Linked DNA regions of Homo sapiens: all the other regions are linked to region 5. The links are contacts of gene promoters, found by promoter capture Hi-C in blood cells and fetal thymus (Javierre and others, 2016). All regions are on one chromosome and are shown on one strand. The core of a region is centred on a gene start or on the middle of the fragment in contact, and the rest is flanking DNA. Distances in the headings are between cores, read along the strand shown.

The links. Contacts are between HindIII fragments. The CHiCAGO score rates a contact against its expected background, and 5 or more counts as called.
Region 1: a contact is called between the fragment with the promoter of UBE3D here and the fragment with the promoter of TTK in region 5, in 9 of 17 cell types (non-activated CD4 T cells, total B cells, naive CD4 T cells and 6 more). The highest score is 17.2, in non-activated CD4 T cells.
Region 2: a contact is called between a fragment that was not itself captured here and the fragment with the promoter of TTK in region 5, in 2 of 17 cell types (activated CD4 T cells and total CD4 T cells). The highest score is 5.2, in activated CD4 T cells.
Region 3: a fragment that was not itself captured here is called in contact with the fragment with the promoter of TTK in region 5 in 1 of 17 cell types (non-activated CD4 T cells); the score reaches 5.8 in non-activated CD4 T cells.
Region 4: a fragment that was not itself captured here is called in contact with the fragment with the promoter of TTK in region 5 in 4 of 17 cell types (total CD4 T cells, fetal thymus, monocytes and 1 more); the score reaches 9.0 in total CD4 T cells.
Region 6: a fragment that was not itself captured here is called in contact with the fragment with the promoter of TTK in region 5 in 1 of 17 cell types (monocytes); the score reaches 5.0 in monocytes.
Region 7: a contact is called between a fragment that was not itself captured here and the fragment with the promoter of TTK in region 5, in 1 of 17 cell types (monocytes). The highest score is 5.4, in monocytes.

Annotation. Positions count from the first base shown.
Region 1 is chr6:83,063,060-83,067,217 of GRCh38, reverse strand. It overlaps UBE3D (ubiquitin protein ligase E3D), which reads left to right and starts at 1,377. Exons shown (of 10, transcript NM_198920.3): 1 at 1,377-1,576. The coding sequence starts at 1,500. The HindIII fragment of the contact is 10,412 bases long and covers 1-1,721 here.
Region 2 is chr6:83,854,157-83,857,029 of GRCh38, reverse strand. It overlaps RIPPLY2 (ripply transcriptional repressor 2), which reads right to left. Exons shown (of 4, transcript NM_001009994.3): 3 at 2,869-2,873. It overlaps RIPPLY2-CYB5R4 (RIPPLY2-CYB5R4 readthrough), which reads right to left. Exons shown (of 18, transcript NR_174604.1): 3 at 2,869-2,873. Among named protein-coding and RNA genes, the nearest start is that of RIPPLY2-CYB5R4, 2.2 kb to the right of the region's middle. The HindIII fragment of the contact is 3,285 bases long and covers 1-2,873 here.
Region 3 is chr6:84,232,404-84,236,367 of GRCh38, reverse strand. No RefSeq gene overlaps it. Among named protein-coding and RNA genes, the nearest start is that of CEP162, 6.7 kb to the right of the region's middle. The HindIII fragment of the contact is 2,281 bases long and covers 1,211-3,491 here.
Region 4 is chr6:83,193,972-83,198,024 of GRCh38, reverse strand. It overlaps RWDD2A (RWD domain containing 2A), which reads right to left. Exons shown (of 3, transcript NM_033411.5): 2 at 3,373-3,713; 3 at 1-2,430. The coding sequence starts at 3,573. The coding sequence ends at 1,753. Among named protein-coding and RNA genes, the nearest start is that of RWDD2A, 2.6 kb to the right of the region's middle. The HindIII fragment of the contact is 1,829 bases long and covers 388-2,216 here.
Region 5 is chr6:80,002,844-80,006,857 of GRCh38, reverse strand. TTK (TTK protein kinase) reads right to left here and starts at 2,209. Exons shown (of 22, transcript NM_003318.5): 1 at 2,145-2,209; 2 at 876-1,016. The coding sequence starts at 1,014. RefSeq lists enhancers at 2,608-2,727, 2,298-3,172. The HindIII fragment of the contact is 2,460 bases long and covers 907-3,366 here.
Region 6 is chr6:83,177,619-83,181,489 of GRCh38, reverse strand. It overlaps PGM3 (phosphoglucomutase 3), which reads left to right. Exons shown (of 13, transcript NM_015599.3): 7 at 1,523-1,680; 8 at 2,734-2,817. Among named protein-coding and RNA genes, the nearest start is that of PGM3, 14 kb to the left of the region's middle. The HindIII fragment of the contact is 1,054 bases long and covers 863-1,916 here.
Region 7 is chr6:83,874,502-83,878,264 of GRCh38, reverse strand. The region is part of intron 4 of RIPPLY2-CYB5R4 (RIPPLY2-CYB5R4 readthrough); the gene reads right to left. The region is part of intron 2 of CYB5R4 (cytochrome b5 reductase 4); the gene reads right to left. Among named protein-coding and RNA genes, the nearest start is that of CYB5R4, 17 kb to the right of the region's middle. The HindIII fragment of the contact is 9,219 bases long and covers 1-3,763 here.

The DNA.
Region 1 (4,158 bases), core at 128-2,627, 3.1 Mb before region 5:
AAACAATTATAAAGAGTAAGTTGTGCTACGGAAGTTGTATATTTCAATATAATGTGTCAATATTTAAGCATTCAATAGCCTCGGGTACTAAAGGTGGAAGATATGAAGAGTTGAAATCATCATCCTTCAAATAGATGAATTATTTGAGACCAAATAATAGTAAACTTTATTTTTTTAAGTGAGTTGTTGCTTCCATCTATAACTTCAAATTATTGTGATAGATATAATAATTTGTGCATCAACATAATAAACTTTAATCACCCCAAATACTGATTTTAGAAAAATTGTCAAGCTATTATCTTAAAATATATGACAGGATTTATTTATTTAGAATTTATTTATGGTTTAGGCTGGGCATGGTGGCTCACACCTGTAATCTCAGCACTTTGGGAGGCCAAGGTGGGCGGATCTACCAAAAACAGAAAAATTAGCCGGGCATGGTGGCGCGTGCGCCTGTAATCCCAGCTACTCGGGAGGCTGAAGCAGGAGAATCGCTTGAACCCAGGAGGCAGAGGTTGCAGTGAGCCGAGATCGCGCCACTGCACTCCAGCCTTGGCGACAGAGCGAGACTCCGAAAAAAAATAAATAAATAAAAGCAGCTCCTTGTTTTTAAGAAGCCCTATTGTAATTCTACCCGGTCTTATATTTTAATAGTTCTTCATTATAAGTATTTACATTATACCAGGTTCTTTACTGTGTCAAACTTTTCAAAACTATCTTCTGGTAGTAAACTTCTCCAACTTCTCTTAGTTTTTACTTTTGTGAAAGTGAATAGTGGAGCTGTACATACGTAATCATTCTCATCTTCCTTTTTTACCCCCTAAAAAATGGTTAGTCCTGATAGACTTCAGCCACACTCTTCTGCATTAGGTAACAAAGAACTTCCTTATATTTTTGCACCTGTTTCAATTTTGGAGCTATCCTGTCTAAGTTGAGAAGCAATGGCAAGTCAATTCTTGAAAATTTTGTCGCTTTAGATAGAGGCTAACAAACGACCCTTGTTCATAAAGAGACCAAGATAAAGTGGGTTTGGGGCCGGGAATTCTGTTCTTGCATCTCCTGGGGACAAAGCCCACCTGTAACACTTGCCTCCATCATCTCCCTCCCTTCGAGCTAGCCAAAGGTGTGAACCCTGGGTCTGATTTTTATGGTCATTTCCAGGGATGCTAACGCGCCAAGTCACGCTCATAAGAAGCAGAGTGGGGCGATAGCTAGCCTCTCGCCGCCCACCTTTCTCAGCACTCTGGGCCAAAGCCTGGTTTTGAAAATGCGCGCCCCGCCCCGGCCTCCGGGGTCACGCGCCTTCTCGGTGGTGCACTCTCCGGCCGGCAGGTGGCGCTGTGAGCTGGTAGGCGGCGCCAGCCCTGCGATCTGGCACAGGCGCCTGCGCCGCAGCGGGGCTGCCGCTGGTTGGTCCGCACGTGGAACCTCTCCTGGTCCTGTTGACCCGGGCCCCTCGGAACCTCCAGCTTGGTCCGGTCTGGGACTGGAAGCCTGCCATGGCGGCTTCTGCGGCGGAGACGCGCGTGTTTCTGGAGGTGCGGGGACAGCTGCAGAGCGCGCTTCTGATCCTGGGGTAAGAACTGGGATTCTAGGCGCAGTGCCCAGCTCGCTTTACTGCTGCCCGGGGGTCGGGGGCTGGTGAGTCTCTCTCTGTACGAGGGATTTTGAGTTTCTTCTTTCCAGTTGCGTAGAGCCTCTCGATCACTCAAAGTGAAGCTTTCCCCTGTAGTCGGCTCCGCCACTCCCACCCCTACTGACAGTGTGGGTATCTTTGGGGAGCTTTTTAGAAATTCAGGGTCTCAGCTCCACACCAGACTTATGGAATCAAAACTTATATTTTAACAAGATTTCCAGGAATCAAATGCACATTAAAATTTGAGGAACAGTGATGTAAAACACTGTTGGCAGTGCCCGGCGTTTCCAACAAAACAATGCAAAAAATGATTTGTCTGTCTCTCTTCGGGATCCTCCTTACTGGATCAGTTCCTATGTGAGCTTCTTGTTTTGTAAATAACCTCGGGTCTTTTCGTCCAAAACTGCTCTTTGCAGAGAAACCACACAATCATTCAATAAACGTGAGTTTAGTGAACCACTAAGACAGGTTGTAGACTTCTTACTGGAGCTCGTTCATTTATTCATATTCTTCCTTCCAGTGAGAACGTCAAACTTGTTATTCGCTACACAAATAACTTTTAGGAAAAATGTTCTCTATTTTGTTTGACAGCAGTTTTAATGATTTGTGGTCCCCTTGTCTATTCCTTTGTGATCGCTGTTTCAAAGAGAGTAAGTTAGAAGTTAAAATCCTGAGAATGGTATTACACGGTGCCACAGGTAGATTGATGCTTAATTTTTTCCTCTTCCCTAAATCTGCCAGATATCTGGTGTGGCAATTTGGAATATGGCGTGAGAACTGAGTTCAAATGCTAGCTTCCTCACGAAATTAGAATAATTTAATCTGAATTTCTTCAATCTTGAAATGGGAATAATAGTACTCTGAATGTATTTCTTTTTCTCTTTCAAAATTTATGAATTTGGACAAATATCTCCAATTCTGGTGCACCTTGTAGAGTAATTAGGAACCCAAACCCTACCAAAATAAAACAAAAACCACACACACACAACAAACCCTCCCTTCCTCTCATGCAGGGGCCTTTCACAGTTCCCTTGGACTACTCTCCTTTGTTTAGGCAAGGTACCCGGGTGGCTCATGCCTGTAATCCCAGCACATTGGGAGGCTGAGGCGGGCGGATCACGAGGTCAAGAGATCAAGACCATCCTGGCCAACATGGTGAAACCCTGTCTCTACTAAAAATACAAAAATTAGCTGGGTGTGGTGGCGCGCACCTTTAGTCAGTCCCAGCTACTCAGGAGGCTGAGGCAGGAGAATGGAGTGAACCCGGGAGGCGGAGGTTGCAGTGAGCTGAGATCGCGCCACTGCAGTTCAGCCTGGCAACAGAAAGAGACTCCGTCTCAAAAAATAAAAAATAAAAAGAAAAAAAAAGAAACCTAACTTTGCTGGACTTAGTTTTGCCATTTCTTGAACTACTTATAAATGGATTCATACAATATATACTTTTTTGTTTCTGGCTGCATTCCTTCCATAATATTTTTCAGATTCACGTTCCATCTATGTGGCTGCATATATCAGTAGTCCATTCCTTTTTCTTGCTAAGTTTTCCATTGTATGAATATACCACAATTCATTTATCTGTTCTCCTATTGCTGGATGTTTTTCTTGTTTCTGGAGTTTGCTTATTATGAATACAGCTGTCATAACACTGTTGTATAAATCTTTTTTTGGACATACATTTTCATTTCTTTTTAGGTAAGTACCTAAGAGTGAAATTTCTGGGTCATAGGATAGATGTGCATGTTACTTTGTGAGAAATTGCCAAACAGTTCTCCAAAGTGATTGTACCAGTTTGCACGTTCAACCAGAAAAAAAATGAGTTTCAACTACTTTACATTTTGACTTACATTTAGTATTATCAGTCCTTTTAGTTTGAACCATTCTAGTGTGTGTAAAATAGTATCTTGTGGTTTTAATTTTCATTTTACCGATGACTAATAATGTTGAGTGCCTTTTCACTTGCTTTTTAGCAATTCATATATGTTCTTTTTAAAAGTATCTTCTAATTTTTTTTGCCCATAATCAGATTATTTGTCTTGTTTAATTGAGAGTTCTTTATACTGTCTCAAAACAAGAGCTTTCTCACATAAATGCCTTGTGAATATATGACTATTCTTATCTGTGACTTAACTTTTCATTTTCTTTTCTTTTTTTTTTTTTTTTTTTTTTTTTAGACAGCGTCTTGCTCTACTGCCCAGGCTACAGTGCAGTGGTGTGATCATGGCTCACTGCAGCCTCAACCTCCTGGGCTCAAGCAATCCTCCCACCTCAGCCTCTGGAGTAGCTGGGATACAAGTTGCATGCCACCATGCCCAGCTAATTTTTGTATTTTTTTGTAGAGATAGGGTTTCACCATATTGCCCATGCTGGTCTTGAACTCCTGGACTCAAGCGATCCACCCACTTTGGACTCCCAAAGTGCTGGGATTACAGGTATGAGCCACCATGCCCTGCCTCGTTTTTTTGATAGTGTCCTTTGATGAACAGAAATTTTAATTTTAATGAAGTCCACTCTATCGTTTTTTT
Region 2 (2,873 bases), core at 5-2,504, 3.9 Mb before region 5:
TTCAAGCTGTAAATTGGATCAAACAAATTTACACTAAACCCTGGATATGCATAAGATCAATGTTTACCTTACTTTGTACATTATGGATATATTTATTCTTATAATATATAGAAGATTTGTCTTCCAGTTTCTAAATTCCTTTGGAAAAAATGAATTGAGTTCTACCACTACATTAAAAACTTTAATGATAGCCAGCTTTATAAAGATGACAAAATATTATGCACCTTACAAAAAGGTGGAAATAACCTATTATCTTATTTAAAACTCACAGATTTAACTCTTATAGAAGTAGACAACGTAAGTTTAAAAATGTATAAAAACCAGTATTTTAAAATTTTTGTCTATGCACTCACAACTTGAGGCATAGAAAGACTACTTCTGACCTCAACTTTGATTCTATGTGCCTGTCTTCTCCCCATTCAACTAAATTTGTGAATATCATATGAAATGTTGAGAAATTATATATGTTTTATACAAATAACTGGCATGTAAGTATTATTACCTCAGAATTTCAAAAATCTGACAAATACTAATCTTGCCTTCTGGTCTTCATCAAGGAAAAGAAAGAGGAGAGATAAGGCTGAATCACCAAGTACAGTGCAGTCATTTTAGTGCAGGGTAAACAGCCCATATATCCATACAATGGAGTCATCCCAACAAATGGAAGATTACATTATGTTCAGTATGCTCCACTTTAAAAGGCAGAAAAACAAACAATGCAGTTTATAAATGTTTCCAGCAAAAATCATAAAAAAAGTTTATATTTTTGATGCTTAAACAAGTAACTATCAATTATTCAGTCGTTCAATAAATATTTTAGTGATCCCTTGTGCCAACATAATTCACAATTTAAAGATGAATAAATCATGGTCCCTACCCTCAAAAAGTTGACAGCTGAATAAAAAGAATAAAACACACCATATTAGTCAAGATATAAATGAATAAAAATAAAATATAAGAGAACAATTAAATTGTAACCGTACTTCAGAAAAGAAAGGAATTTCTTATATAAGAAACAATTTATTTCCTAATGCGTAACTGGAACTGGCAAACCCAAAGAATGCTAGTCATTATGATACTCTGTCCAGAATTTCTCACTGTGGGCCATTTTTCTCCCAGGGCCCGCATACTTTTCTGAGTTTCTTCCTGTTCTGATTCTTCTCCGTCTCCTTGTGGACCTCTCTTTCTCTGTGTACTGGTTAGATGCTGGCCTTCCCTCAGGTTTTCATTGAGAACATCAGCCCTCCCTCTAAACAAACTAGGATGACCTGGCCCACTGTCATGATTTCCCCACCCTACATTTACCATGGACTCCCAAGTCTGTATTTCCACTTAAGATCTTGACTCTGGGCCCCTAACTTACGTACGCAGTTCTCTACAGGATATCACTCTTTGGATGCCCCATAGGCACATTAAATATGATAAGTGGAAAACTTGACTCATGATCTCACCTCCCAAATCTGTTTTCGGCCCTAATTTACATTCTTTTAGTACAGCATTCACCTGCTCACCAGCCACAAACTTAGGAGCCATTCTGGCCTTTTACCTCTTCTTCACCTAACATATCCAATACGTTATAAAGCCTAATCTATTTTGTCATTCAAGTATTTCCTAGATTCACCCAGTCTCACCCTCACTTCCACTGTCTTACAATGGTTCATCATTATTTCTTACCTGAAAAATTGCAGAACTTCCAGTTTTACTTTTGATGCCCTGACTAAGCCTATTTAACATATAACCCCCAAGACTACCTTCGGAATAAAGCCCATGGGTTCCCAACACTACATACAGGATCAGGACAGAACTCTGTACAAGAGTGTGCAAGATTTGGCCTCTGATTACCCTGCTAAAATGACCACAACTTCACACACCTAAACTCCTTGGAGTTCCCGCAAGGAGCCACACCGTTTCATGATCCTGCTTCTCTTTTCCAATGCTATTTCTTTTGCTCCCACTTCCCATTCATCTGACTAACTTTTCCAAGACTCAGCCAGGTAACCACAACTTATAATATACACTTCCCTGACCCTTCCCCCTACCACTGACAGATTTAGGCACTTCGTGCCCTGCCCATACTTGTAAAACTAACCAAACTAAATTCCATTACAACACTTGCCATGTGCTGTGACTACTTTTTCCTGTGTCCTTCACCAGTGCTAGCACACGGTAGGAAATTAGATGTAATGACTTCTATGTGTTATTTATGACCAGGGGCACTTTACAAACATCATCCAGCTCTTCATTTAACAGCTCTCGGAGGCAGGAAAACTGCAGAATTCTTAACATTTCACCTGAATAAAAGTGACACAGAATCTTAGATAAAGGCTGACTTCCTGTGACTAGGAACAGTAAACTAGCTCCGCAAGTTAAATAAACTTTTGACCCTTTCTATAACCATTCTCAATAATCTTTAGGATTTTCATTACATTTCTATTTTTTCCTACTCGGCAAACTTGTAAGACTGTAACTGTTAATCCCATTCTTCCTTCCAGATTGCAAGACAAAAGCAGCATACACACTCTGCCTGATGCGAAGTCAATTTCATTCGAACCCTTTAGGATTTAAAAATAAAAACTGTTTTGCCAGCACAAGATGTCACCGCTCTCTTACCATATCATCCCCTTTCCCTCTTCGTAATATATTCATCAAGTTCACTGAGTATGTATTCATCAACAGTCCCTTTACGTGGGACCGTGAGCCCCTACCTTTTTCAATTTGATGAGTGAGAAGATAAGTAACCTTGAAGCCAGATTTTCAGAGAGAGAGAGAGAGACTGCAGGACCAGCTGCGGAGCTGGGCTGCGCGATGCCCCTGGCTCCTCCCTGGGGCTGGAGGAGCGGGAGACCTTCGGCGAGGCCTGTCACTCACCTGAC
Region 3 (3,964 bases), core at 1,102-3,601, 4.2 Mb before region 5:
TGGTCAAGCACTCAGCCTCTACCAGGACCATGTAACACACTAAAAACTTTTCAAATTGGCAAGTAGCTTTCAAGAGCAGAAAACATGATCTTCTTCACTATCTACTGATCTGTCTTCTGACTATGCAATTGAGGCTTAGGGAATGTTTAACACACCCCTATTTACCATGGATATTGCTAGCCACCATCAGATTTTCTGGGTCATGTGGACCAAGCTTCCAGCGTGCTTACACTACAACCTGGACCTGTTACAGACCGTTCTATTGCTCTGGGTAACACTAAAGTCCAATAAATGGGTTAGTACAATACTCGCAAATGCAGTACATGCTGCTTTTAAAATCTACAAGGGCCCATGAAGCACTATGTCTTTTTCTGGGTGGGAGGTTCCAATGTGTAACAATTTGTTTTTTATCTTTATCTTTTATAATCATCTAAAATTTCAAAAATATGGCAGTAGTCTAAAATTTTGTAGGGTTCATATCCCACCCTCTGGTGTTCATGTGCCTAATTAGGGCATCTAGAATAATTGCCACTTCTTCCTTATCTAGTGCAATTAACATGATGCCATTCAGTAGACTATCATGATGTTGTGAAATGACAAGCCAATTAAGTTTCCTACAGGCTACATTGTGATACAGAACAGCAGAGTTAATACAGCTATGGGGGGAAATAGTGAATGTAAACTATTATCCTAGCCAAGTGCATACCAACTGCTTTTGATGTTTTTTCCAAAGGTGATTTAAAAGACAATATTTTCCAGATACATAGAGGTGCTAGTCTCTGCCATCCCTCCCATGAAGAGGTCTTGATTCTGATTTACTCACTTGGATGTTGGTGGCATGTTTTCAGAGACTTCCACTTAGTACTTCCTACCATAACGGCTCCACAGATCCTGGAATCAACATAAGGCTCCTTTCAGTTACATACTTGGAAATTTTATAAATTATTTATTTATGGACTGGGGAAAGAATCAAAGAGTGAGCCACAGACCCATTGTAACCTCTGTGAGACATACTTGGGCTAGGACTCTTTTACCTTTCCTCATATGCCCTCATGCTAACTGGAAGGCCATGATAGCATTTCAGGTTCCCTGGCATCAGTATTAGCTCATACCTTTTATCCAACAATCCTTGAAAAGTCTAACTATTCTTATTTCCAGTTTTCATCTAGCCTCCAAACACCCCCACTCTAACTAGAGACCCATGGAAGCTTTTCTGGCTCTCTAAAGCAGTTAGCATTAGGGTCAGCTCATACTCCCTATTCAACAGTCTTCAAAAAACTAACTATAATTATTTCCTCAGTGCAGTGTTACCCTAGTAAATGGTCATAGGTCCCTTTGTGGAAAGATAGGGAGAATGTTTATAATTATTCATGTGACAATGCAGGGTCTTTCCTTAAGGGCACTCGCCCTGCCTTTTAACCAATGAGATCTAGGTCTACAAAATTACATAAATCTAGAAGCTGGATGAAGGACCTAGATTTTCCATTGTGATAGCTGATGCTCATATTCTTCTTATATTCTGATGGAGCACATCACATGAAGATATTTTGGTTGTTGTTGTTGCATACACACACACACACACACACACACACACAAATTGCCCAGTCAGCTATCCATGTACCTCATCCCTCAAACTGCAATTTATTAGCCATTGCCACAGATTCCTGCAGGTCAAGACAGCCAGACTGCTACTATAGACTTCTGTCAATTTCAGTAATTGCAACCATCTTGCCTCTGACAGTTTAGTATCACCACATATACTTTTCACTGAGAAATCCCATACCTTCACTGATACTAGGGAGACTAGTTTCAAGCAGCATCTCCTGTTACTAACCCTGACATGGGGAGGATAGACATCACCAGGTTTTTCAGATTCTGATGTTCCCCTCACCAGCCAATTGTTTTCTGTCTTATTGAAGGGTATATCCTCTGGATCCTCTCAGGGAACAAAGTCAGGTGACAGATGCTAGAGATCATATAAAGAATCCACACTAACATTCCTATCTTCATGAGCCTTCTCAAATCTTCCTTAATACCAGCCAAAGCAATTTCAGCATTTCTGTCTCATTTTCCTATTTGCCATCATCACATGCAGACTTCAAGGAAACTTCCCAGAAGAATATTAAGACCAGCTCCAGATGTCCTTACTAGGAAATTGAGCCCCAATTCAGGAGTGAGTGCTCTCATGTCAATAAAATCTTCCCTGTTCAGCCTTATTTTATTTCCCCCACCAGTCAACACTCTCAAAATTCACCCCTACATGTATTTCCCTGGTTTCTTTTAGTACATATAATCTAGGACCTGCAATTCCTATAAACCATTTCTTCCTGGAGAAAGAACTATATTTCCCAGCTCAGGTGTTTTGAGACCTGACCCAAGCTACTAGCAGGGGGACAATGAATGGTGACCAGACAGATCTTGAGGAGGACAAGCATCATCTTGTGAGTTTCCTCCCTCACATAAGGGTCTTTAGGTCTTTTCAAGGTCTCTAGGCAGGAAGAGGATGTTCTGCTCTAGTAAGGAGAATGGGAGTGCTTCTGCCATTATTGAGGGTTCAGGGAAATCTGAGAGTTCAAGACTCCCAGACTTATCCACCCAAATGTCCATATTCCAAGTTCAGTGTTCCACTATTTGCTATCAGAACCCTGACTCAGAAGACCCAGAAAGGTTGTGGCTTCAATTCCCTTTGCAACTGTGCCACTCTTACAATTTGATCTTGGGCATGACTTTCACCACCTACTCTACTGCAGCTGCAGGAAAGGATGATTTCCTCAAATGCTGATATAAGCCCTTGACTTTTATAATGCACATTGATTGTGGCTGACCTGAGCCATTAATTGTCTTTATTTCAAGGCATCCAAAGCAATTAGTAAAATCCAGTCATTCTACAATATTAATAATTACCTTTGCCATCATACTATATGAATAACCCCTCACATTCCACCTGTACCTCTGCCTAACCAATCTCATGTGAGAATCTTAGCAATTGCATTCCACTGGTTATCACCACTCCATCTCTTTCAGCAATGGGGTCTTCATTGCCATCTTACTGATGAGTTCTTCAGTTCCCAAATCCTATCCTAATGGTCTGCTTTCTAGGGATAACTCTAATACTATCTGTCTTTCCCAGGGTTCCCCTGAAAGGATAACATTAAACATAGACTTGAATGAAAGTAATGTATTTGGAAATGAGTTGTCAAGTAGTAGAAGTGATGAATAAGGACAGTGACGGGGGAGAGAGAGAGAGAGAGAGAGAGAGAGAGAGAGAGAGAGAGAGCGAGCGAGCCAATACAAGAATGTATCATCAAACCATTGCTGTGAACAACTGGTTCCAAATCACAGCAGACATTCTGAAAAGTCTTATGAAATGTGTATCAATACTGTCTACCCTAGGGTGAAAAGCAGAAGGCATTTATTCATCGGTTCCTCCCCACACTGGTCAAGGGTTAGCCCACAGAAGTTAAGTCCCTTACACTTCCGATGTGCAAGCTTTGAGTGCTGAATGGGTTCCCTCAAGTATCAGAGAAACCCCAGGGAGTGGAAAGCAAGAGGTTCACATGCAGGCTTAAGGCAGGCACACTTTTGACTTAATCTGTGAAGCTAGTCAAGCCTGAGCGAAACTGGTCCCAGCAGCAGTGACAAGAGTAAAAGACGAGGCCATGAACATGTGAATGTGACATATAAGACAGTCCAATGGAGCACACAGAAAAGTAGAGTATCAACCATCAAAATTGGAACTAATAAAGGACCATCGGTTAGAAAATGACTCTATATGGCCTATTTATGCTTAAGACTACAGATTGTGACTGGAAAAATACTTGTTTCTGGCTAAAAGATATTATAATCATTTTCTTCATTAGGTTTCTTAATACAACAAAATAGTGATATTTGTAATCCAAAACATTTAGCTTAAGAAATAATAAGCACAACTTCAAATTTCTACCTTATCGACATATTTTAATAA
Region 4 (4,053 bases), core at 53-2,552, 3.2 Mb before region 5:
CCCTTTGCATATAGGCAAAGTGTCAGGCTCCAGCCTGAGTTCCAGCACAACCAAGGCTAGGATGGAAACATGAATGGCAAGCTGGAGGACCTGGCGGGGCAGGCCTACAGCGAGCCATGGGTTGAAGATCTGAGTTGTGCCCTGAGAGGACACTCATTGTGACCTAAGAAGAAAGAGGCAGTACAAAGTGGACCCAGTTCTAACACCTCCTTGGGATAGGGCCTCCTGCTCCATCATGTCCTCTCTGTAGCCCAAGGACACGTCTGCATCCACGGCACAGAGGGTAAAACCAGATGGTAGTTTCATCAGAAGTTCTGTAGGCTCCCCAGCACAAGCAGCACTGTCTGACATCTAACAGGATGTGTTCCTAAATCCCAGCACCAAGCTTTGGCATCTTGAGAGGACCCAGTAGGAGAATGGAATGCCTCCCGGGAAAGGGCAGCAGTAGCTGACCACAGAAACACGGAAAGCTGCAGAGGCTGCTCAAGACATCTCTTAGCACATGAGACTCGCAGAAATACTTGGGGAGGGATGGAGACCTGGTAATGAAAAGGCTTGGCAAGAGCTACTTAAATAGCGGTTTTTAATCATTAAAATAAACTCTCATTTTGAAAAGCCTGGTGAAGCCTGTGGAGCTTGGAATTTTCAGAGGAGATGGCAGTAACATCATCGGACTGTAGAATTAGATTTTTTTTTTCCCAATAAGGTAATGATGCAGATATCCACACTGGTCCCCTCAACAGTCTCTTGCCCTTTATAGTAATGCATACTGGCACACAGGCAAAGGTTGGATTGAAACAGGCGAATACTTTGTAGACAAGGAACCATGTGTTTATCTTTTCTGGATAAGAATTAAACTAATACTGGTATCAGGATTGCTAGTATCATGAACTGATATAAACAGCCAGAACACATAGCATTGTGTGTCATCTTTTAACTCGTGGGACTTCATGTCTATGAGTCCTTTGCCACTGCTATTAGGATCTAGTTTTACTAAAACACTCGAAATAGGAGTTTAAAGTAAGAAATGAAGTAAACGGGCTGGGCGCGGTGGCTCACACCTGTAATCCCAGCACTTTGGAAGGCCGAGGCAGGCAGATCACGAGGTTAAGAGATTGAGACCATCCTAGCCAACATGATGAAACCCTGTCTCTACTAAAAATATAACAATTAGCTGGGCGTGGTGGCGCACGCCTGTAGTCCCAGCTACTTGGGAGGCTGAGGCAGGAGAATCGCTTGAACCTGGGAAGCTGAGGATGCAGTGAGCCGAGATCGCACCGTCTCAAAAAAGGAAGTAAACATGTCCTTCCTGTTCTCATTTTAAACTTGATTTAGATTTCCAATAATGAAAGACAAGTGGGTGTGTCACATGTGTGCTAGCAATGTGAAACAAATGCTATTCATATTTCTCAATTCATAATTGCAGTTTGATTTTTGATGTTAGTTATGGGCTTTGGATTCCTCTTCAATCAAATCAGCTTCACAAGTTAAATGGATTGTTTTTATTAATTTACAATGAAATAGTTTTTGAATGACTTCACACAAAAACCTAGAGATAACATCACAATTGCAATGTTATAAAGTTTAAAGGCCTATTCATTTCACTGTCAGTTGAAATTCGTTACCAGGTGAAAATTCTGGAGCTGGGTTTTGCACTGAGGATGCTACACAGCCACTAGCCTTTTTAATTTGGTCTTATTAACAGAAATACTGACTTAGTGAAATTACAGGCATAGGCCTCTTAATCGCTTTTTATGAGTCTGAACTTTTGCTTTCAATACCAAATAGTATCTGAAAAACATGCTCACTTTTGTGCTTCTTGAGAAATTCTAAGAATTGGCCCAGATTCATGTGATAGTCATTCCTTAATCCATAGTCACCATGAGCCTCAAGGAGTAACTCTTCAAAAGAATGGAAAAGGCGCAGGTCCTCACCATTTCCTTCTGTCTCCACGCTTTCAGCATGCTTACAGGAAATGTGCTTCCAATTGGGGTACCTAATTGTGTGCCAGAACTCCTCACAGTGCTCTTTGAAACCCTCCACACAGATTATACCAGGCTTTCCTGTCATGCAAAATCCAGTCACATCTAACCTTTTCCCAACATCCAAAATCTTTTTCCTTAGGTCCTGCTGATATATATGGTGACTGTAGATCCACATTCGGAGGAATGTGTTCTTGACTGGCTTTGCTTGTGTAGATGGTTCATATACAAGCTTTCTGTTCAGGAAATAAGATGCACTGTTGTCCTGTAGCCACTGGATTGCTGCACATACACAGAGCTCACCTGGATCAAAAGTCCCTATGTAAGAAGTGAGACCTTTGTTGAGAAGTAGCTGCTGATGTCTGTCAAGTTCAGATGACCGTCCAAACAGCTGCAATGCTACATAGGGGTAGCTGTGAGGCATGGTCACTTGCAAATCAATTTTCACCTTAAAATGAAAATCAAATAGATTTAAATACCATAACATCACATAAGCTAGTTTATCAATAGCAACTGCATGATTTTGAGAAATGTTATTGCTACTATTAAATGTACCAGGTACTTTACATACATGATTGCTTCCTTTTATGCATTATTTCAATATTTATTGAACAACTACGTGTGCCAGGTGCCCTTGTGCTGGGATAAAAAAGTGAATAAACCAGACACTATTTTTGCCCTTCATGAAGTCCAGGGCCTAGTGAAGGAGACACACATTAAACAAATAATTACATATAGCAAGTATTTAATTTCAATTGTGAAAAGCATTACCATGGAAAAGTGGAGGGTTCCATTGAAGTGTGTAACCAGCGGGACAGAATCCAGTCTGGAGAACCAGAAAGTCTCCTCTGAGGGAATAACAACTGAAGGATGAGTAGGAAATAGCTACAACAGTGGTTCTCAAATGCCCAGTCCACGTATTACCTATGCTATGCTAATGTTGCTGGAGATAAATGGATCAGAAGATGGAGGTAAATTCATTTTTAGTCTTTAGATTTTTCCATCCATATTTGCTTTCTGTGTTATGGTGCCATCAAAAAATCCACTCATTCACTCCTTAAAAGACAGTTATGTTACAGGAGATATTTAGATTTATGAAAATCATGATACATGTGAAAGGTAGTCCAACTGGATGGGTGAACAAAATAATAATGGCATAAGACTGCAAGATAGCGTCAATAAAAACTCCAGGTATATTTGTTAAAAAGGTGTATATGTTTACATAAAATTAAAGATATTTACTGAAGACAATTTATAGAGCATTCCGTATCTTTCAAACAAGGAAATATGCACCTGGAATATTTCTATCTTTCCTTGACAGAAAGCTCATGTTCTAGATGTTTCAATTAAAAACTGGGCACCTGGCAAACACTTAAATCAGGGTACCTACCTTGGGCTCTTCAATCTGGAGTGTAATTACAAATTCGATTTTTGGTGGCAGCGCCTCCCTTGTGCCTTCCAAATACCTCTTTATATTCGTCAGGGCATTTACATCTTCAAGTTTTACTTCTCCTTGGTTAGGAAACATAGAAAACAGCATTTCCATCTCCAGTAGCTGAAGCTGAAGGCTTTCTTTCACCGAAGCAGACATGTTGCCTCGCAATCAGCCTGCCTGGAAACCTCACAAGGCTCAGGGACGCTGGGTTTGTCAATGCCAGCCGGTATCCAGCGAAATTTCCCGAAGGTCCCTTTACGTGGAAGCAATTCTGCAGGAACGCTTTGCACCGAGAGCTAGGGGCACAAACCAGACACTTGCACTCTTCTTTATTTCCTGACTCCAAAATCTAGTATGCACAACATCCTCTAAAACACTCCGTAAAAACCCATATTCTGCGTACCCGGGCTCCGGGTTCCCGCCTCCCGCACCCCGCACTAGATAGGGGAATCTGCACTTTCAACAGGTGTTTGGAACTGTCCCGCTGCAGGTGGCAGGCAGACACCTGCAGACGCTCTGCAAGCCTGAATTCTGGGAAAGGCTGGGGCCCGGCTTCCAATCCCACCCGGGGCTCGGGCTTGGGCGGAGCCAGACGCTGCGGCGAGAGAGGCCGCAGTGCCAGCAGGATGGGCTCCG
Region 5 (4,014 bases), core at 960-3,459:
TAGTGCATGCATAACTTTGCTTTGTCGTTTTAAATTTAATTTGGTCTGACCTTAATTTTCTATTTTTACCTCCTATTGCTTTCCTAAGAAATTAGTCTGTGAAATGTCTAAAAAACACACATTGCCATCTGTGGCTTTGCAGATGCATTCCTCATGCCTGAGTACCCTATTCTTCCTCTAATCAACAAATAAAACATTTGTGTTTTATCATGCTAGTATTCCTATGATGCCCAGCATGCATTACAATGTAGCATAGTGAATATATAAATTCTCATCTAGAAAGAAACTATGGTTTTAAGCATCTTTGAATCTTCCTCAGTACTTAAAATACTCAATTGCCTTGATGTACAACCTTTGTTAGTGACATAATTAAGCACAATTATACTCCATTAAGATTTTGCTTAACACTAAAACTATCATTTTCTAGGTTTTTTCAAAGTGAACAGTCAGCCACCATGATTAGATCACAGGTTCTTCCATTTATTTTCAATTCCTCATCTATTTAAAGGTTAGTATAGATGTAAGAAAATTATCCAAAGGTCACCATTCAAATGACCAACCATTTGAAATACAGTAAAGAATCAGGCTTCTGAGCTAATACTTTTAGAAGAGCTAGAGTATTAAACTCTGGGCATTTTCACCCATTAATCATTGTTCAATAAATGTTTAAGTGCCTACCTACCATGTGCCAGACACCATTCAAAGTTCTGTGGATATAACAGACAAAAACCCTGCCATCATGTAGCCTGCATTCTAATGGAGGAGAAAGACAATAAACACATGAGTAAATTATAAATAAAGTGATTAGTACTATATCTTTACCTTAGAGGATACCCAACAAACAGTTACTAACTTAAAAGAAAAGAAAAACTCACCTGTAGTATCAGCAGAAATTTTATTCAAGCTTAGTTCATCAGTAAGGTCTTCATTTTTAAACTTATTTTTAATGTCTCTCACTTTGTTCATTATGGAATCAATTGTCAATTCTCTGCCACTTAAATCCTCGGATTCCATTTCTAAGAAAAAAACTGAACAGTCATAACTCCTACTTTAACTAGCATCAAAGAAAAAAATGCACTAGCTTTTTAGAACCCAGACGACTAAAGCATTCGTTTTGTGAACACATCTAAATGCAGCTATTATTAGGCTAGTATTAATGGAGGTAAGTGCACAACAACAAGGTACACATCTTTGTAATTTATTCACCAAGGTTTCATAGGCCAAGTATACTTTTTCCCCCAATATAACATCAATGACGTCACACTGTAGAAATCTGCAAATTTAGTGTCACTTAAAAAAAATATGATAGAGTGTTTGCTTGGATTTTGGTAGCGACATACACATAAAGATTGCTTGGATTCTGGTAGTGACATAGACATAAAGAATTCGTTTGGCAATGGGAATAACAATTCCTTTATTCGCCTGCTTTACTTGAGTAAATCTTCCAGTGCAAGTGCTTTCAAAGCAGAATATAAACATGATGGGGCTTTACTGATAATTAGGAAATCCGCAGATTTATTCTTGTGCATATCTAGCAGAATCACGATTTGCTACCTTAATCTAACACTAAGAAACTATTGTACTGGTACTGAGCACTTGCTTATCTGCATGGTGGTGGTGTTTGTTCAATAAAGTGTCTGCAGTCTTATTGTTAATCGTATCTTTGTGACTCTCAAACACCAACTCAGTGTCACTGATAACAATGCTGCCCCGTCTTCAGGTTTAACAATGAAAAAAAGTCATAAAGTTGCAGCAAGGTATCACTCCACCTCTTAAGTCAGGTTTGAAAGATAACTGTCAGATCACGGCCACCCGCTTCTTTCCCAGTTCTAACCCCCAAAACAAGAGAGACTGTCCTTTGGAAAACGATCTTGTGCGCAGGTACCCCACCACCCCTTCTTTCCAGCGTGGGCCACACCCACTTCTTACTTCCTCAACAAAACCTCCTGCATCACCCCACCGGCCAGACCCGCTGAGGCAGTGAGACATCCCCTCCCCCTCCAGCTCGTTTAGCCGCGTCGCATACCTGGCTCCGAGCTGCCCCCACCTCGCCCCACCCCTCACCGACCAGCGCTAACAATGAGCCCCTACACCGGCTGCGGCTGTTCCTCAGTGCGCCGGTGCACCGGTAAGACAGAACTTACCTACAGAAAGCTGCGCTGGGGAAATGAAAAGATGGAACCCAAACTCCTTTCCGCAAACACGTTTGAATTTCCCCGTCGCTATCACTACGGTCTCCTATTGGTCAATGCTAGCCACGTAGAAGCGACAGTCGTGATTGGTTCTTGTGCGACGGGGGCCGCCCCTCCTCCTGCGTCAGGCTAGGCCCGCCCCGGAAGAGCCTGCGGCCGCGACCCCACCCGTGCGGCGCCTGGGTTGGTAGGGTGCTGGCACTTTGCAGGCGTTCCCCGGACGCCCGTGGGCGGGCTTTCCTGGTCTTTCCAGTTTAACCAGGCCGAATTTTTGCCTGGGAGGTAGCCACTCCCGAGCAAACCTACCCAGTGAGAGGAATATAGGGGCAGGGACGGCTGCTCCTAGCATCAGGACCTAAAAGATGCACCTTGGGCCGGCCCTTTACTGACCCCACCGCCACCCTTCTCCTTCGTTTCCCGCGGTTCTCACAGCCTGGCTTAGAGAGGATGTGGCAAGAAAGGATCTTTCACTGAGCTACGTTCAGCCCTGCCGCCAGCTCAAGAATTTCAGTGCTTTTTATCCTTGAGCTTCTGCTTATGCCCTTCCATTATCCTTAAATGACTCCACGCTCTGTCTTCAAGCCAAGACCCTCCCCCTTGTCAAAATTCTGCGCAGAACTCAAGCGCCCATCGTGATTGCCCTGTCTGAAGTCGCCTTATCGGCCCCCCTCCCTCGAAGCCTGCCCCACTTAAGGGCTCAGGTGTCCTCAGGGGTAAAAACATCTCCCTAGTAATAATCTTCGCGGGTGCGAGGCTCTGCCGCTAAGTGGCTTTGTGGTCCAGGGCAACGGTTACTCCTCGTCTGCAAAACTAAAAGGGATGTGTCTGTTGTGCCAGCATTATGACATATATTCTGTGGTAGGACGGGTTGGTTTTGTGTATGTATAGGAAACTAACTGCAGCTGTCACTTGTTAACTCCAAAGCTATCCTTAGAACCCTCACATTCCCAGCTCTGGATAGCCACCCAGCTAGCGTGAGAGCCCTTCTCAATCACTTAATGCATCTTTCTGTGTCAGCTAGCTAGTATTTCTGCTTCAGCAGAGCAAAATGACTTGCTATACCATGGTTGGCTAATCACTTACCTTTGCACCATTGCATCTAATGCTTCTGCCTGGAAAGAGTTTATTATTCCTCCAATTCTCGTTGATCTGTTTGCGGCCTGATCACAAAGCTTGCATTTTCCTTAAAATACTGTTGCTGGATGACCTCACCCTAACACTTCTTTCTGTACTCTCGTTTGGTGGTCTCCTTCAGTCTTCTATTTTTAAATACCATCTATATGTTGATGGCTCCCAAATGTGTATCATTAGCTGAGCTCTCCTCAACTCCATACTCAGATATCCACTGCCTACTTATTAACATCTTCACTTACATGTCTCATACGCATCTTGAACTCAAAATGTCCAAAACCAAGCCCCTGATCTTCCTACCCAAACCTGTTTTTTTTACAAAATCTATAAAAGACAAATTCATTGTCTTAAATTTTTTAGCCCCAAAACCTTTGTGTCATCCCTGATCCCTTATCTAACTCATAAGCAGATTGAGTCAGGGCTGGCACAAGAGATTCCTGGACTCCTACCAGTTCTCCCCACCTCCACTGCCACCACTTCAGTCCAAGGCATCTGCATCACTTAACTGATGTTACCTGCAGTAGCCTCCTGGCTGGTCTCCCTGCTTCTGCCCTTGCCTCACCTCAATTTATTCTCTGACATAGCAAAGTCATCTTAAATCAGATTATGTCACTACTTTGCTCAAAACCCTTCAGTGCTCCCTTTCTAGCTCGGAATAAAATCAAAAGTCCTTGTGATGGTCTGTGACTAT
Region 6 (3,871 bases), core at 140-2,639, 3.2 Mb before region 5:
ATTCTAGAGCAGTGGTTCTCAAACTGGCATGTGTCAGAATCACTTTGAGGGCTTGTTAGCACACAGATTCCTGGGCTCCACTTCTGAGTTTCTGGAGGTCTGGCATAGGATTTGCATATGATAGAAATTTGCATTTCTATCAAGTTTGCAGGCTTTGTTCCCAGTGCTTGTCTGGGGATCCCTTTTTGAGAATCACAGATCTACAGGGGAGCATAGTAAGTATTATTAGATACCTTATCTGAATTAAATACACTATGGAAAGCAAATGTAACTCTGCTTATACAGTTGTTAGCAATCAGTGTTTTCCACTCAGTGCAGAATAGGAGGAAGACTTTTCTTCAGATTTTAGTTGTAGTAAGAGGTGTTCTGGATTTATCTGCATTATAGACCCTAAATTATTTGCTTAGGCCAAACCTGACTTGCAGATATGTTTTGTTTGGCTGGCTGCATTTGTGTGTTTGTCTGTGTGCCACTGTTTAAAAATTCCGTGACTTCTCTTATATATTGGAATCTCTAGCATCTCTTTACCAAAATCAGAAAATGTTCACACATGGCATTAGTCCACTACAGTCAGATAGATGCTGCTCCCCTAAAATAGGACATGCATTCTGGAACTCTACAGACTTCATCCAGTTGCCTCATTCATTCATGTTATTATGCTTTACTTAGTAAGCATTTAAAATGTCAGTGTAGTCAACCAATTTGAGCTCCTTTTCATTGAATTGCTTGTTTTGACATTTACTTGACAGTTCAGTTCTGCCACTTATTTATCCATTTCTTAAATACTGAGCTCTTACTCTCTATGCTCTAGGCTTTGGGACTACAGTATGAACAAAACCATAGTCCTTGCTTTCCTGAAGCTTGCATCATGTCCTTTCATCAATCTTATGATCCCATTCCTGACAAAAGCCTTTTACTTCTTAGTTGTCTCATGTTGAATTTGTCACTCTGCTGCTGTCATGGCTAAGGAATAGCCAAATTTTCTAATAAATTTGATGTGACAATTGCTGAGATTTCAGCAACTTTATGTAAATTTCACAGGCCAGTTATCTCTCAAAGTTATAATTCTTTGCTCTTAATTATCAGTGTTTCTTTTTATTGGTGGTATGAACAAATAAAAATCATTTCTGTTAGAATTAAAGCACATACATCATCTAGTGCTGATTATTTTTTCTATGTAAAGGAGATCACGGTCCTAGGTAAATTACATTCAGAAATACATGTAGCTTTCAAAAAACCTTTATGGGACACCTGTCTAGCCAAACCAACCTGCTTATAAAGTGGAATTTTATGGTAGTATTATAGCAAATATCAGCATAGATTTTGAATGCTCCTTTTTTCACTTTGCAGTGAAAGAATTTGACCTGTAAAAACCACTAATAAACTATGTACTATTTAAAGATTATACACTATTTAAGATTAAGACATTGATTTTTAGGTGGATAATTTTAAGAGAAAATTCTAAAACTCTTTATAATAAATTCTTAGACTGAAATGCATGTTAAATTATCCTGTGTGCTAGGAATGGAAATTAAGTCCAATGAAAGATGCTGTTCTTTTGATGGAGATGCAGACAGAATTGTTTATTACTACCATGATGCAGATGGCCACTTTCATCTCATAGATGGAGACAAGATAGCAACGTTAATTAGCAGTTTCCTTAAAGAGCTCCTGGTGGAGGTATGGTGGGGGGATTGGCTACCCTCTAAAACAAGACTTAGTAGTGAAATAGTTCCATATTTTACAATCATTTGTCAGAAGGGCACAATTTATGACAAATTCTTTACATTAGTGGGCAGAAAATTAAAAAAAGAGCAGTGGTAATACCCAGTCATTTGAACATTTGAGGCATTGGCTTTGGAACCTGAAGGTACTCTTTTCCTCCTTATACTGGCTGAGTTTTGTGATTTGAAGCTTTAGGAAGTTTTGCTTCCATCATAATTGAAACTTTGATGACAGTTCTGTGGTCACTCCATAAAAGCCCTAAATTCTAATAGGAAATCTCATCATCTGATATATTAACTGATTATGATAAGCTTAGTAATGTGAGATTTGTTTCATTTTGCTATTTTAGAAATAAATCTCAGGCTAGCTTTAAGTACACAATGTAATTGGAAATTATTATAATCTGGAAACAGCATACTTTAAGAATTTAATAGATTTTTTTTTTTTTTTTTTTTGAGACAGTGTTGCTCTGTTGCCCAGGCTGGAGTGCAGGGGCGTGATCTCGGCTCATTGCAACCTCTGCCTCCCTGGGCTCAAGCAATTCTTCTGCCTCAGCCTCCCAAGTAGCTGGGATTACAGATGCATGCCACCACACCTGGCTAATTTTTGTACTTTTAGTAGAGATGGGGTTTCACCATGTTGGCCAGGCTGGTCTCGAACTTTTGACCTCAGGTGATCCACCCACCTTGGCCTCCCAGAGTGCTGGGATTACAGGCGTGAGCCACCGTGCCTGGCCAGATACTTTTATTTAAAAAATTAAAGAGGTGAAGATCAGGAGATACAGGCTTCTTAAAAGAGGAATTCTCATAGAATTGTTTTAAATAGTGTTCAAATGTATTTTAGGCTTTTTTCCTGGCATACATGTAAATTTTCAGTCAGACATTTTTGGCATAAACTAAGGCACAACTGAACTGGCTGATAATTTTGGTAGCCTTTAGAACTCTCATTATATTTGTTTTTGTAGACCATACTTTTGATGGCAAGTTAAGTATCATTGTTTTTGTCTAGATTGGAGAAAGTTTGAATATTGGTGTTGTACAAACTGCATATGCAAATGGAAGTTCAACACGGTATCTTGAAGAAGTTATGAAGGTATTGAACCATTTTTGTTTTCTGGTAGTTTCTTAATTAAGATCATGTTTCTGTGAGAAAGATACTGCCCTCATAAAAGTGATTATGTTGTAGTGCATGAAGCTGAGCTGCTGTTCATGTAAAGGTAAAGAGAAATAAATAAGAAAAAATTTAGTTGTCCTTGATGAATAAAGGAAAACTTCTTTCCTTCCTTTTCTTGGAGTTTTCCTTTAGAAAACTTGGAATTCTTTCTCTGTGCCTTTGTAATGAATGTAAGTCTTTCTAAAGGCCTAATAAGCCAGTTTTATAGCTCAGGAATACTTTTCTTTAAGGGCCTAGAGTCACCAATTTCAAATATAAACATCAAGGAAGATAGCTCACCTATCTCCCAGTCTCAGGAGAGTTTAACTTAGGTGTTTGCGTCCAATTTGTAACTATCTACCTGTCACAGAGGTATGAAAAGTTTTATTACTCCTTTAGAGAAGGGCAGTTAACACAGGTGGCCATCCCTATTACCAAGTAAGTTTAGGATAAACTATGTGTGTGACAAATGGTGGTTTCAAGTTTTCCTATTTGAGGACTAGTGTTAAAGAAAAAATAATTCATGACACTTGTTAAAATGGTAAGGCAGACTTGATTCAGGACTGTTGTGATAGGTACAGGGACTAATGTGATGGAGTTTTGCAGTGGTAGGAGAAAGATTGGGCTCAACTCCAAATATAGTAAGGAAAAGTAGGGCTTTATAGCCAAGGAGCAGGGTGTGTGGGGGGTGGTCAGTGGATGAAAAATTACTGAGAGGAAACATGAGGGTAAGTGGGTGGTATTTTGGCTAAACTGATCTAACAGGACTTTTGCTGAAGGTAGGCCAGGGCGGTCACATATTACCTGGGGGATGGTAGAGAATGAGAACTCAGATCAGATGTCAAGAGTGGTCATGTATCAGGATGAGGGATTCTCGCTAAGCTCACTTAGCATGACTCTTATTAAAATCGGGCTATTGGAAGACATGCCTAAGGACAAGGCCTAGTCAGGCCCACCTAAACCTAACTAAAGTTTGGTCAAGGAGAGAATTTTT
Region 7 (3,763 bases), core at 10-2,509, 3.9 Mb before region 5:
ACATGTCAAAATACCTATGATTGATTTTTTTTTAATCTAGTGGAAAATGTGGATGACATCTAACAGATGAGAAATTTCCAGCAGAGAGATGGGAACCATAAAACAAAGTCTAAAGGAAATAGCAAATTGAAAGACATGATATTAGAATGAAGAATTTCTTTAATGGGCTTATTGGCAGACTGGAAATAGAGGAAAGACTCTGCAAACTTAAAGAAAGAGCAATAAAAATTATTCAAACATAAACAAAAGAGGAAAGAGTGAGATAATACAATGCTGCATCTAAGAGCCCTGGGACAATATAGGCTAACATGTTTGTAACTGGAATCCCAGAGGAAGATGCAAAAGAAATATTTGAAGAGATAATGGCTGAAAATTTCCCAAAATTAATTTGGAGAACCCCAAGCAGGAAAAATACAGGGAAAACCATATCATAGTCAAACTGCTAAAAACCTAAAAGAAAGTCTTAAAGGCAGTCAGAGAAAAAAGAAATCTTACTCGCTGCTATGATTTAGACATTTGTCCCCTCCAAACTTCATGTTGAAATTTGATCCCCAGTGTTGGAGGTGAGGCCTAATGGGAGGTGTCTGGTTCATCGGGGTAGATCTCTCTTGAAAACATTAATGCCCTCTTTTGTGGGTGAGTTCTTACTCTATTAGTTTCTGTGAAAGCCGATTGTCAAAAGGAGCCTGGCACATCCTCCCCCACCCACCCACTCCTGCCCTTCCCCCTCTCTCACCATGTAATCTTTGTACACGCTAGCTCCCTTTCATCTTCCTCCTTGAGACCCTCACCAGATGCAGATGCCCAATTTTAAACTTTCAAGCCATCAAGAATCACGAGTCAAATAAACCTTTTGTCTTTATAAATTACCCAGCCTCAGGCATTCCTTTATAGCAACATAAAATGAACTAAGACACATACTATGGGAAAAAAAGAATGATGGTAGAGTTCTCATCTATGCAAACTAGACGATAGGGTGACATATTTAAACTGACGGAAAAAAGAACACTGTCAATCTAGAAATGTATGCTCAATGACAATATATCTTTAAAATGAAGGCAAAATAAAGACATTTCAGAAAAAAAGTGAGGGAATTCATAGCCAACAGACCTGCACTATAAAAAAATGTTAAAAGGGCTGGGTGCGGTTGCTCATGCCTGTAATCCCAGCACTTTGGGAGGCCGAGGCGGGTGGATCACAAGGTCAGGAGATCGAAACCATCCTGGCTAATGTGGTGAAACCCATCTCTACTAAAAATATAAAAAATTAGCCAGGTGTGGTAGCACACGCCTGTACTCCCAGACTGGGGAGGCTGAGGCAGGAGAATCCCTTGAGCCTGGGAGGCGAAGGTTGTAGTGAGCCAAGATCGTGCCACTGCACTCCAGCCTGGTGACAGAGCAAGACTCTGTCTGAAAAAAAAAAGTTAAAGGAAGTTCTTCAGCAGAAATCTGGATCAACAAAAAGGAATAACAATCACAGAAAATGGTAAAATGTGGGTAAACATAAAATATAATTTTTTAATTATCTTTATCTCTTTGAAAGATAAGTAACTGTATAAAGCAAAAATAGTAACATATTGTGGGGTTTTCAGCTTATATAGAAGTAAAATGAATAACAACAACAGCATAAGGCACAGAAAAGGAAAATGGAAGTATATTATTAAAAGGTTATTATACTATATGTGAAATAGTATATTATTTGAAAGTAGACTGATACATTAGAAATGTATATCATAAACCCTTAGAGCAGCTGCTAAAAAAAAAAAAGCAAAGAAGTATAAAAAATAATAGTGGAGAAAAAATGGTTTCATTAAAATATAATGATAACTATGTCAACAATGGATGAATCCAGGCAGTTGAAGAATTTATGGAATTCACTGCATCACACTTGCAACTTTTTTGTAAGTCTGAAACTTTTTTCAAAATAAAATACTTCATTAAAAAGTATTTAATGACAAAAATGACCCTTAAGAAATCTTCAATATTTACCCAATCCCCACAGTGTGCAAAGTCTACAAAAGAAAATACAAAACTATACAAAGGAGAGAAACCATATGAAACCTATCAGGCTGTTGCTCACATTTGAATTGATAGACCATGAATCTATATTAGAGAACTGTCCAGAAATAACGAAGTTTCTTATTAAGGAACTAGTATATTTCCCAACTCCAGGAGCCAACAATATGGAAACACGAAACATGGAAGTCCCTCAGCTGGGTTCTATCTTGTGATAACATTAGAATATCCCTACTGTCAGAGGCGTTCGAACCAGAGCGACTCCATTTTGAGAGAGGGCTAGGAAAAAGAGGCTGGGACCTGCCAGGCTAAATTCCGAGAAAGTCAGACATACCTAGCCTCTAGATGTTTGTGGTTAAGGGAACAAATTAATAGTATCCACTAAACAGACCCAGACTTGGGAGTATCCAGATATCCTGATATCTGGAGAACAAAGGCATTCCTAATTTTTCTTCAAAGATAATAATATTGATTCTTGCAAAATGTAGTAATTAAGAAAATTAATCCTTTATCACAAACCCTTGTAGCAGAGCACATCTCCACATGTATACAAGCATTGTACCTAGGGTGGATGCGTTCCTCCTCTTACTCTCAGGAACACCCTACTCTGTCCTATGGAGTAGCTGTACTTTCACTACTTTACTTTCTTAATAAACTTGCTTTTACTTTGCACTGTGGACTTGTCCTGAATTCTTTCTTGCACAAGACCCAAGGACCCTCTCTTGGGGTCTGGATCGGGAACACTTTCCTGTAACCACAGAAGGGACCACAGTGCAGAAATCCTGACCCAATGGCTACCTTTGGGTAAGTGGTGGTGGTCCTGTAACACTACCATAATGTGGTTTAAAAGTCCTGCACATCCTGTAGTCCTAGCTACTCAGGAGGCTGATATAGGAGGACCGCTTAAGCCCAGGAGTTTGGGTCCAGCCTAGGCAGCATAGTGAGACTCAGTATCTAAAAAAACATTAAAATTTTAATTAAAAAATAAAAAGTTTTGCACATATCAAAATCTACACATGCCTCAAAGAACATTTACTGAATATTAACCATGAGCTATGCCCTCTGCCAGATGCAAGGGATATAGGGAGAAAAGTGGTACATTAATATCCTGAAACTTAAGAATAAAGACGGCCGGGCACAGTGGCTCACGCCTATAATCCCAGCACTTTGGGAGGCTGAGGCAGGCAGATCACAAGATCAAGAGTTTGAGACCAGCCTGGCCAACATGGTGAAACCCCATCTCTACTAAAAATACAAAAATTAGCTGGGCTTGGTGGTGCACACCTGTTATCCCAGCTACTCAGGAGGCTGAGGCAGGAGAATTGTTTGAACCTGGGAGGCGGAGGTTGCAGTGAGCCAAGATCGCGCCACTGCACTCCAGCCTGGCGACAGAGTGAGACTCTATCTAAAAAAAAAAATAAAAATAAAAAAATAAAGAATAAAGACAAAAATATAAAAAGTGGCCAAGAAAACGAAACAGATGTTCTAACAGAAGTCCTACATACCAGGTACAGAGGAAGAAAGCCTTGGGGAAGAAGCGATCAGGGAGGGTCAGAGTCAGGTTTTCAAAGATGAAGAGACTGAAGGAAAGAAGCTGCTGGAAGAATGAAAGGCAAGAATTGAAGATGTCAGACAATAAAGGACGACCAATGGCCCAACATGATAAAAAAGGCTGGAAAGGACTGGTAAGAACACATAAAGGGATTAGCCTTAGGGGGAAAAAAAAAAAAGGTCTGAGAAAGAATGAG